Linked DNA regions of Homo sapiens: region 1 is linked to region 2. Evidence: promoter capture Hi-C in human tissues and cell types (Jung and others, 2019). All regions are on one chromosome and are shown on one strand. The core of a region is centred on a gene start or on the middle of the fragment in contact, and the rest is flanking DNA. Distances in the headings are between cores, read along the strand shown.

Region 1 (5,547 bases), core at 1,800-4,299, 790 kb before region 2:
TGTGAGAAAATATGAAAGGCTAAATGGAAAAATGCAGATTTATTTCTTCTGGATTGATAGTAGCTGACTACATTTAAATAGAGAATACAGTTTTTTTGATAATGGAGGGGCAAAATCTACCCACACAACAGTTAAAAATGATTGCTTTCAGTGCTACTTATACCACATTCAATATTTTCATGCGATCACTTGTGATGTAAACAGTGTACGGCAAAGTATATATCTGTCACATACCTACATTAATATCTCCAAGTATACAACTTGGGCCTGACCCAGAACGTATTTGAACTCAGTACGTGAGTCAGAAAATTTTTTTTTTTTTTTTTTTTTTTGAGTCAGAAAATTTTAACAGACCAACATTATATTTGGTTTTGACTAAAATTACAGGTACAAGTGTTTTCACTTCAACATTAAAAACAATATTCTGAATGAGTATGCAACATCAGTTTCCAATGTCCTCTTATAGAAAATGCTCATTATCAATAACGTCACATCACTGCAGAAGCTGCTGTGACACTTAACAGCTAGGTGTTATTTCTAAGTAATATGGCACATTATTACATTATTTCAAGTCATTATAAGTGAAGTTGAAGCTCAAACTGAAGTCTCACCTTTGACCATTTAACACACTTCAATTACCTCCTGAACCTCATTAGATGCAGTGAGTGCCCTTCCTGTCCCTGTTAGATAACCCCACTGTACCAATTATAAGGAATTCTTCTGCTTATCACCACTGCTGTTTAGACTGATCATCTGCACCTTTAGTCCAGCCAAACTGGTTGTGCTATCTCAGATTTGCATGTCTGCACTAAGCCAGGTTATAGCAAGGGCTTTCTGCTATAATTCTACAGAAGCATTTCACACTGAATTTAAAGATCATTGCATGCTTCCCAAACCAAAGCGCTGGTCAAATTCAATTAAAGATAATCTTGGGTTTGGCATATCCATAAAGCATAATATTTAAGTTGTAAAAGGTAGATTTCTTGATAAATAAAAGATTAGGCTGCCAATCAAGGTCACGTGAATAACCCAAAATGTCAATGCTGATGACTTTTTCACTTACTCACCTATGTACATATCTTATCTGTTGTTTATAAAACTGACATTGCTTAAACGTAGTTTTCATATTTTAGTAACATATTAATATTTGCTGCCACAGGGGCATATTCAGCTTTCTGTTGTCTGAACCATGATATTGTTAGACTACAGTCATTCTAAACAATGCAAATTTCTGTCAGCTTATATATCTTCAAACTGGCATCAGGACAAATCTTAGATGCAAACTTATCACTTAGATATGGTTAGCTACTATTGTTTAATTTGTAACTGAGGTTCAAATGACAGATATCCTAAAATACCAGAGTATTATTACTCTAGTATATTGGACCAGAATATAACATATAAAAAATAAAGTTGGACATGTCTTCAGGCATGATGTTTTAAAATCTGAACTTGTTCATGAAGCAGAGAAAAAAAAATCTAATATAGAATTAAGAACAAATAAAGAAGCTATGGCACAATTCCATAATATTCTAAATAGTTTTCTCGCAGATTAAGTAAAAAATCTGTACAGGTAATAGAAGTTTTATTAATACTTTGTGAATTATCAACAATAGCTGTTTCACTTTCAATTTCTAAAGGTCAAACTACATCAGATTAAAGATATTCCAATTATTTCCCTGACTAAAGTGAAGTTACCACAAAATAAAACAGGCCAGAAGTCACCATCACATCCTCAATCACATGCCTGCCTTTGAAGAGAGGAAAAGAAAGGACAGGGTTTTCTGAGCAGTCCCCATTTGCTGTGGAAGGAGCGGAGTGGTGGTGGGGAGTGGACTGTGTTTTCCCTGCACCCCACCTGCACTCAATTCCTCTTGGATACGGCCACAAAAGCAAATCAGGATCTCCTTCCAATTTGTCTCTAAAGCAAGACTCTCTTCAAGATATTTTTCAAATTTTGGAGAAAAAAACAGGTTTCTCATTCAGGATTCACAATAATTATTTCAAAGTTCACTATTACTAGCATCAAAGCACCCATATTCTTTATTAAAAACCTACAGAAAAAGTAATAGGTGATCTCCCATCCAAGCACTAACCAGGTCTGACCTTGGTTAGCTTCCGAGATCAGAAGAGATGGGGCGCGTTCAGGGTGGTATGGCTGTAAACCAGAAAAAGTAATAGGAAATGTTAAAGTGTCTCTTCAGAATACCTTAAAAATTTTCACAATTTACTCCTCTGCATACCTACAAATCACATTTCAAAAATGAATCATAAAAACAAACTATTTCTATAAAACACAAAGAGAAAAGTCACTAGAGTTCCAAGTAGCTGGGAAAGACAGATTGATAAGGGTGGTCCTTTGTACTTTCAGAAAGACAAAAAAGTAAATAAATGTGTTCTGTACTCTTGAACTAAACTTTACCTTATCAGATACAGAAAAAAAATTAACCGGGTTGAAGGTATCTTATGAAAAGTATCTTGCTATCAGGAATTCTTGTGCTACGAGACCAGTTCTATTTAAATCCAGAGTAATTACAATGGATATCTTGGAATTGCAAGATTCCAGGCACTTTTCCCTAAGAATTGCATACTTAGATAGTAAGAGAGGCCTAGCACACATACTGGTGAAGGACAATGTATTCACTGACAAGTTTCCAGAGCTTAGAGGAGTGCTTATATTACTAGACCGTTATTGACTGCTCACTGAACAAATGACAGAAAGAAACAAATCTTATCAATTAAAGTCTAGCAGCTAACATGACTAAGGTACTAAGATAGGGAGGATCCACTCAAGACTGCAGGTATCCTCCCTATTTACGTGAAATCTATCCATTTCAAAAACATTTAATGAACCAATATTTAAATGGGGACCCGTAAAGTTTCAATCTCTAATTTTTCAAAGAGATAAAAGGAGTAAGCTGGCCCTTGGAAAGCAGGTGCAGGCCAAATCCAAACTATTTGAGAAAGCTTATATATATTAACCAAATGCCCACTTAAAAATCTTTAAAAACAAGGATTCCAATGAGCTATTTTTTCTCCAATGGTTAAAGTAGAAGCAATATATACGATTAATTACATAGTTATAACCATATTTACTCACCCTCCTAATAGTATCTGTGGCTGGTTGGATTCATTTGTGATACCAAAAATATCAGGAATTAGATCACCATTGAAACTGAAAAAAAATTAAAACAATAAGCAGCTATTTCTTTAAATTCTTACTTCTAATTTAGCTTTAAAAGAAGCAGTAACTTTTGGGAAGTGTGGTAGACATTACAATGCTCGCCAGTATCTAGTGATAAGTATTAAGTCAAATGTCAGCACAAGTGACATGTGTCACTTTTAGGCCAAAGTGTATAATTTCTGTTACCAGCCCCTCCAGCCCTCTCCAGGCTTGCCATGGCAATGAGAAGGCATTGTGATTCAGATGGACTAGCTACAAAGACAGTGGGCTCTCTGATGGCCTGACTCTAAGCAACAGCACAGAGCAGAGCCTGTTGTTGACCCACACTGGACATATAGTAAGAGCAAGAAATAAATTCGTTTTGTGAGATTTTGGGTATCTCTGTAATCTTTGCATTATCTAGACTACCCTTGAATGATAAGGATACAGCACTAATTCCTAGAAACTTACTTCAGAATCCTAAGCCAACTTGTTTACTTAGATGGGCTTAGGAGAAATAACCTAGAAAAATAATCCTAGTTGGTATAAAACTTCATACTGGCCATTGAATATTTTAACAACAATGAAAAAATACACAACTATGAAAGAAATCTAGCGGGGCACCGTTAAGAAGATTAATCCATGGATTTACAGTTCAGACTTCTAATGGCCACTGACACACTGCTGTATGGGTATGATTTTAATAACTGTAAGAAAGACAGTACTGGAAACAAGAATGTGGCCAAACTTTGCTCTAGTCCCGGGAATGATCTCGACCTCTACCAAAATACGCTGTCAGAAATTTGCAAATCCAAATTTACATCAATTATTTAAATCAATTATGCTGGTACATGAGTCTACAGTGAGAATATAAATGATAACACAAAGCAGGAGTTATATTATAAAAAGAACAAAAATTTCTCCTTAATATAGGAATCTTTCTAAATTTCTAGAGGAAACTGTATCCTAAATATCAAATATAACAGTTTTACTCAAAAACAGGTATCTTAATTCTTTCAGTAATGACAGCATAGATCCATAATGGACACATTTGAAGCGACTGAAATAAAAACACAAATCTCTTCTACTTTCCAAAATAATAAATTTCATTTTTCTTTGTCCTATCTGATGGCAAATAAATACAATATAATCAAAGGTACAGGCCTCTGAGTGAATTTAGTATTTTTATTACTAAGCAAAGTAGTTTCCTATGTGAAGATTTTATTTTATGTTTAAGTTTAAAATCGTTTCAAAGGAAGCAAGCCCATACTTACTCCATAATTAGTGGCTCATCTTGAAAAGTCCTATTGAGTATGGTCATATTGTTAGGATCTGCAAAAAAGATATATATATATATGAATTAGCAGGCATTTTATATTACTTTTGATATCTATGCTTAGGAAAAAATATTCTTCTACTCTTTTCTAGATTTATCTCTGATTTATTCCAACTATTATCATTAATGAGATACTATAAATCTAGTTCAAATGAACATCAAGCTTGCAAAGACAAAATATTGGGAGAATACATTCTACAGTGAAGACTAGCATTACAATAACCTCCTTTTGAGGTATGCATCTAAATATTTGCTAGCTGAGTCTTTGTCTTTACACAATTTAGTGCTAGAGAGGTTGACAATTAACAAGGTTTTGGTGTAAAGAAGGCCACATATGCAAAACTTCCTGGTTCTAAAATGTACATGCTTATATACAAGCTTTGTGCATGGTACTCCCTCTGTAAATATTTATTGACTTAATGAATATAATGTATCGCGATTACTGTTTACATTCCCAAATGGTGCAGAAAACATGACTGAAATTTGGCTCCATGAACAAAGTTGCCTATTTAGGTATAACTAATTGGCTTTTCAGATAAGGCTTGATGATTTGTGACTAGGTATGGTAGACTGACTCTCGAACCATACTTCAACTTTTTTGTGCTTTCCTGTGCTAAGGAGACTAGAAACCAAAAATAGCATTTTCCAGATATTGTGGCATCTGAGATGCTGAATAAAAGTTAAGCCTTGCCAATCAGATACACTGTGAGTCTTAAAGGCATGAATGAGGTAAAGGCTGTTTCTCTGCTATTTCTATCTGTGTCTGCTCACTGAATTTGGGAGTATCAAGAGACCAGGTGCAGCATTCATTTTGCTAGTGAGAATCACTGCAGGCACAGCATCATTCTGGCAGCAGTTGTGTAACTAGCCACTTCTGATAGGGGAAAGAGGCAGTAGCTTTTTTGATGATATTGGGATTGCTCCTGAAAGCTCAACCTAGAGTTTATTCTTTAGCCATCTCAATGATTCTGTGAGCCACTAAAATCCTTTAATAAATCTCTGTCCTCTTTAAGCTAGTAAGAATGAAGTTTGTCAGTAGAAGTGATCC
Region 2 (5,211 bases), core at 403-2,902:
AATGTCCATCAATGATAGACTGGATTAAGAAAATGTGGCACATATACACCATGGAATACTATGCAGCCATAAAAAAGGATGAGTTCATGTCCTTTGTAGGGACATGGATGATGCTGGAAACCATCATTCTGAGCAAACTATCGCAAAGACCGAAAACAAAACACTGCAAGTTCTCACTCATAGGTGGCAACTGAACAATGAGAACACTTGGACACAGGGTGGGGAACATCACACTCAGGGGCCTGTCGTTGGGTGGTGGGGAGTGGGGGGGAAGGGATACCATTAGGAGATATACCTAATGTAAATGACGAGTTAGTGAGTGCAGCAAACCAACATGGCACATGTATACATATGTAACAAACCTGTACGTTGTGCACATGTACCCTAGAACTTAAACTATAATAAAAAATAAAATTAAATTAAAAACAGAAAAAAAATAAAAGTATCAAGGTTGTAAAAAAAAAAAAAATTGGACGGGCGCAGTGGCTCAGGCCTGTAATCCCAGCACTTTTGGGAGGCCAAGGCGGGCAGATCACGAGGTCAGGAGATTGAGACCATCCTGGCTAACATGGCGAAACCCCGTCTCTACTAAAAATACAAAAAATTAGCCGGGCGTGGTTGCGGGTGCCTGTAGTCCCCAGCTACTCGGGAGGCTGAAGCAGGAGAATGGCATGAACCCGGGAGGCGGAGCTTGCAGTGAGCCGAGATCTCGCCACTACACTCCAGCCTGGGTGACAGAGCGAGACTCCGTCTCAAAAAAAAAAAAAAAAAAAAAAAATTGAGGACTTGCCACAGATTAGAGAACACCTAGGAGATTTCATAACAAAACACCTAGGAGATTTCACAACAGGATCCTGGATATTGGATCCTGGACCAGATCCAATGAAGGACATTAGTGGGAAAACTGGCAAAATTTGGGTAAGGCCTATAGGTTAAACGATAATAATGTTAATTTCCTGGTTTTGATCATTGAACTATGATTATGTAAGATGATAACAGACGAAACTGGGTGAAAGGTATATAGGAACTCTGCTGTAGTTTTGTACATCTAAAATCAATTCGGGCCGGGCACGTTGGCTCACGCCTGTAATCCCAGCACTTTGGGAGGCCGAGGTGGACGGATCGCTTGAGGTCAGGAGTTAAAGACCAGCCTGGCCAACATGGTGAAATCCCCTCCCTACTAAAAATACAACAATTAGCTGGGTGTGGTGGCGGGCATCTGTAATCCCAGCTACTCGGGAGGCTGAGGCAGGAGAATCGCTTGAACCCGGGAGGCAGAGGCTGCAAGCCGTGGGTATCGCGCCATTGCACTCCAGCCTCCGCGACAGAGCGAGAATCTGTCTCAGAATAAATAAATAAATAAATAAATAAATAATTAGTTCGAATCAAAAGTTAAAAACACTTCAAGTATATGTAAAAAATCGAAGAAAACGTTAAAAACACTTCAAGTATATACAATTCAAATAAGATCATCCTTCCAAATATACTCTGTAAGTGAGGCGAAGGTCGCTGCACGCTTGAGTGCACGTCTTTCCGCATAGGTAGGACGCTCAAGTCTTACCGGGAGGCTCTCCTAGAGAGCAGCGCGAAGCCATGGCTTTTGGGCCCGGGGACGGACCGTAGCGCGTAGCCGGAAGCGGAGGCGTGGAGGCGGGTCTGAGGTTTGGTGACTGCGGGGCAGGCCGGGGGCAGCTGTCTGTCTGGCTCTTTTTGACAGCCCCCAGTGCGAAAGGCTGCCAGCATGTCATCAGTGAGCCCCATCCAGATCCCCAGTCGCCTCCCGCTGCTGCTCACCCACGAGGGCGTCCTGCTGCCCGGCTCCACCATGCGCACCAGCGTGGACTCGGCCCGCAACCTGCAGCTGGTGCGGAGCCGCCTTCTGAAGGGCACGTCGCTGCAAAGCACCATCCTGGGCGTCATCCCCAACACGCCTGACCCCGCCAGCGACGCGCAGGACCTGCCGCCGCTGCACAGGTAGGCCTGGCTGCCCCCGCGGCGGCGGCGGGCGGCGCGGCCTCCTCCGGGGACCTGGGCCCAGGCCACGGCCTGCCTTGAGCGCGAGGCTCAGTTCGGGGCGGCCTTCGCGGCTCGGTTCCGCCTCTCTGGTGCTATCACTTGCAAAATGGGGATGTCAGATACCTGCCCCATGACCATGAATGAGATCGTTCATGAAGTAGTGCCTGACACCTGGTGAAACTACGCAGTTCCCTACCGTTCTGGATAATTTAATTTGAATCCTCTTCCCCCTCTCCGCAATTCCTCGCCCTCGGTCTTCAGCCTCCTAGGCCAGTGCTTTTAACTTTCCAGGCCCTTTCTTTCTCCCCGGTGATCTCTGCCTTCACTTGCCTTCGCTTTTCACCTTTCTCCCCACTGCCCTTTACTCCTATCCGCCTCCCCTTTTCTGTCACCCATCATTTTTGTCCGCTGAGGCATTCTCTGCTCCGTGAGTTTTAACTTTTCCTGTTTCATTCCTAAACTGCACTATTTGTGGGTGCCTTTCTTCTATACTCCCTGCCACCCTTCTCCTTCTCCCCCTAATCCTTCTGTTTCCCTTTGTAAAGGGCCTTTACTGCTCACATTTTCGCTGGTCCCCCTTTCTGGAACTTTCCTAGCTTCTCACCTCTGCTCCTTCACTCATAACATTTCTTAGGCCCCAGGCTTACTACTATATTGCCCAGTACCCTCGCCCTATTGGTGTGACTTTGGGTGAGAGCTTTAACCTCTATTTCTTTTATTCTGCAATTTGGAAACTGACAGCATCCATCTCTTAGGCAAGTTATGAAGAATAAATTGAATAATGTGTATATTCCACTTTGCACCATGCATGATGGATGACTTTGCTGTCCAGTACTGTGTAGTGCATGTGGCTCGTCAAATTGAGATGATAGAATTGCCAGTTGTCCTGGTTTGCTGCGATTGTCTGTTTTAGCATTGAAAGTCCTATGTTTTAGCCCCTCCGTCCCAGGGAAACCAGGAGGTTGGTCACCCTAAATGTGCTGTAAGTGTACAATACACGCCAGATTTTGAAAAAACTTTTTGATTAATACATTTTATATGGATTAAATGTTGGAAAGGTAATATTTTGAGTACTTGGGGTTAATAAAATGTTAAGATTTCTGCTGTTTTTACTTTATAATGTGGCCACTAAAATTTTATATGTGGTCCACATTATATTTTTATTGGACAATGCTGGTATATCGTATGCTCTCAACAAGTATCTTCAAACTCACCTGCCAAGCACCCGCCTCCTATTCCTAACTCTACTGGAGGTGTTGTGTTTTCAGTTTAGAGCTTCTCCTTTCCTGGCAGTTATCCCTTATTTTTAAATTAGGGGTTCCTGACTCTGAATGGATTTCCGGAGGGTTGGACATGTCTTATTTTTCCTCAAAATCTTGTGACTATGTACATTTTTTTAGGAGAATCCTTTGCTTTCTTCAGATTCTCAAAGGAGACTGGTACCTCCCCCCACCCCCGTTAAAAGAAAGCAAAACAAAGCAACAAAGACCAACAAACCTTCCACAGCAGCCCAGTATTCATTTATATTGTAAAAGCCTTGATTTTCTCAAGCATGGAAAATATTTTGGCTCCCATCTGACCTGCTTTGGTTATTGCCTGAGTGGAATTGGTCACATTCCAAGTTTCAGTACTCTTTGATAAATTGTATTGGATTCTAGTTTCCCAACATACGACTCTGCTCCTTCTGCTTACTTTTCCCAAATTATTTTGCCTTCTGTGCCCAGGCACACTTAGTTCCCTGTCTAGGCAAGAGTGGTCATTATTAGACTTCATTTTCTTTCTACTGTGCATATGTATTGATTAGCCATGGGCACATTGTGAACTTGAAAAGTCGATTTAGTCACATTTTAAGTTTCACTATTTGTTGGTATTATTCTGGCAAGATTTTGGAAGGTTTTTATTATTTATTCATTTGTGTATTTTTTGAGACAGAGTCTCATTCTGTCTCCTCCGCTGAAGTGCAGTGGCGTGATCGTAGCCCACCGCAACCTTGATTGAACTCCTGGGCTCAAGTGATCGTCCTGCCTCAGCTTCTGGAGTGGCTGGGACTATAGGCGTGCACCACTACACCCAGCTAATTTTTAAATTTTTTGTAGAAATGGGGTCTCACTATGTTGCTTAGGCTGGTCTCAAACTCCTGGACTCAAGCTATCCCCTGCTTTGGCCTCTGGAGTAGCTGGGACTATAGGCAAGCGCCACCATACCCTTCAGGTTTTTAATTTATTTTATGAAAATCCCTCCAAAGCAACAATCCTCAATTCTCCTGCTTGAAAGTAATCACTAATAATCAGGTACTGTGTGATCTGATCCTTGATGTTCATATTATTGCCTTTAACTGAGTAGCAATGTTAAAATTTAATCATTTAAATTAGAAAACATATATTGAAAAGTCTTCATAGAAGTCCGGCATTATAAGAACTCATCAGACCATCTAGTTATCCTAGAAGTATTGTTTGCTACTTAAAAAGCCTATGTGGAAAGATTGTACCATATTCCTTGGTAATAGTTTCCAATGTCTTTTTTTCTCTAATAGGGCCTTTAAAACACTCTACTTAAAAAAAAAAAAAAAAAAAGGCTTTAACAATACCAATACTGAGTAATCCATAGCATTAGCCTGTTTCCACGCACAAGTCTGTCCTTCCCCAGTTACCTGCTTTTCTGTATGGTAGCCCAGAGGCCAGAAGAGGGGCTCTGTTCCTTTCTCTTGTTTCCTTTGCGCTATCCAGGTGACGCTGGCACAGCCTTCAAAGAGCAGCAGAAGTAATTTGCTCCCAGCGTTCTTTGCCACACAGAGTGGCAGGATTAGATGTTGACTTACCTCTGCCACTTCCTTGGTGGTTTTGAGTAGTACAGTCCCTTTCTGCACGTTAGTGTGCAGGCATGTTGCCTGCAGGAGCCTTTTTAAAGGAGGAGCTTTGGACTTGTCCTGCAGTATAGAACTTGGCTGGCATGCTGACCCAGGGCACCCTGCATTTTTCTGCTTAGTAGAACTGCATTTTTAGTGCTTCCTGAGTGACCCATTGTTTTCTTAGTGAAAAGGGGTCATAATTTAGTACTACCTGTACAATATCCTTTCAAGCATTTCAAGATGGTCATCCAGCTTTCTTCCAAATTTACACTTTTCAGGGTACATGGCTTCATTTCCTCATAGTGCCGACTTCTCAGTCTCCCTCACCAGGCTGGTGTCAAACTTGT

What was found. The method cuts DNA at HindIII sites, captures the fragments that hold promoters and counts their contacts. A contact is called where the count stands out against the background at its distance.
Region 1: a fragment that was not itself captured here is called in contact with the fragment with the promoter of LONP2 in region 2 in 3 of the 25 tissues and cell types used here (dorsolateral prefrontal cortex, heart left ventricle and spleen).

What each region holds. Positions count from the first base shown.
Region 1 is chr16:47,448,296-47,453,842 of GRCh38, forward strand. ITFG1 (integrin alpha FG-GAP repeat containing 1) reads right to left here. Exons shown (of 18, transcript NM_030790.5): 4 at 4,438-4,495; 5 at 3,101-3,175. It also overlaps the pseudogene RNA5SP424. Among named protein-coding and RNA genes, the nearest start is that of ITFG1, 10 kb to the right of the region's middle. The HindIII fragment of the contact is 5,293 bases long and covers 404-5,547 here.
Region 2 is chr16:48,242,648-48,247,858 of GRCh38, forward strand. It overlaps LONP2 (lon peptidase 2, peroxisomal), which reads left to right and starts at 1,653. Exons shown (of 15, transcript NM_031490.5): 1 at 1,653-1,974. The coding sequence starts at 1,742. ABCC11 (ATP binding cassette subfamily C member 11) reads right to left here and starts at 4,892. Exons shown (of 30, transcript NM_001370497.1): 1 at 4,667-4,892. RefSeq lists an enhancer at 1,589-1,678. The HindIII fragment of the contact is 28,002 bases long and covers 1-5,211 here.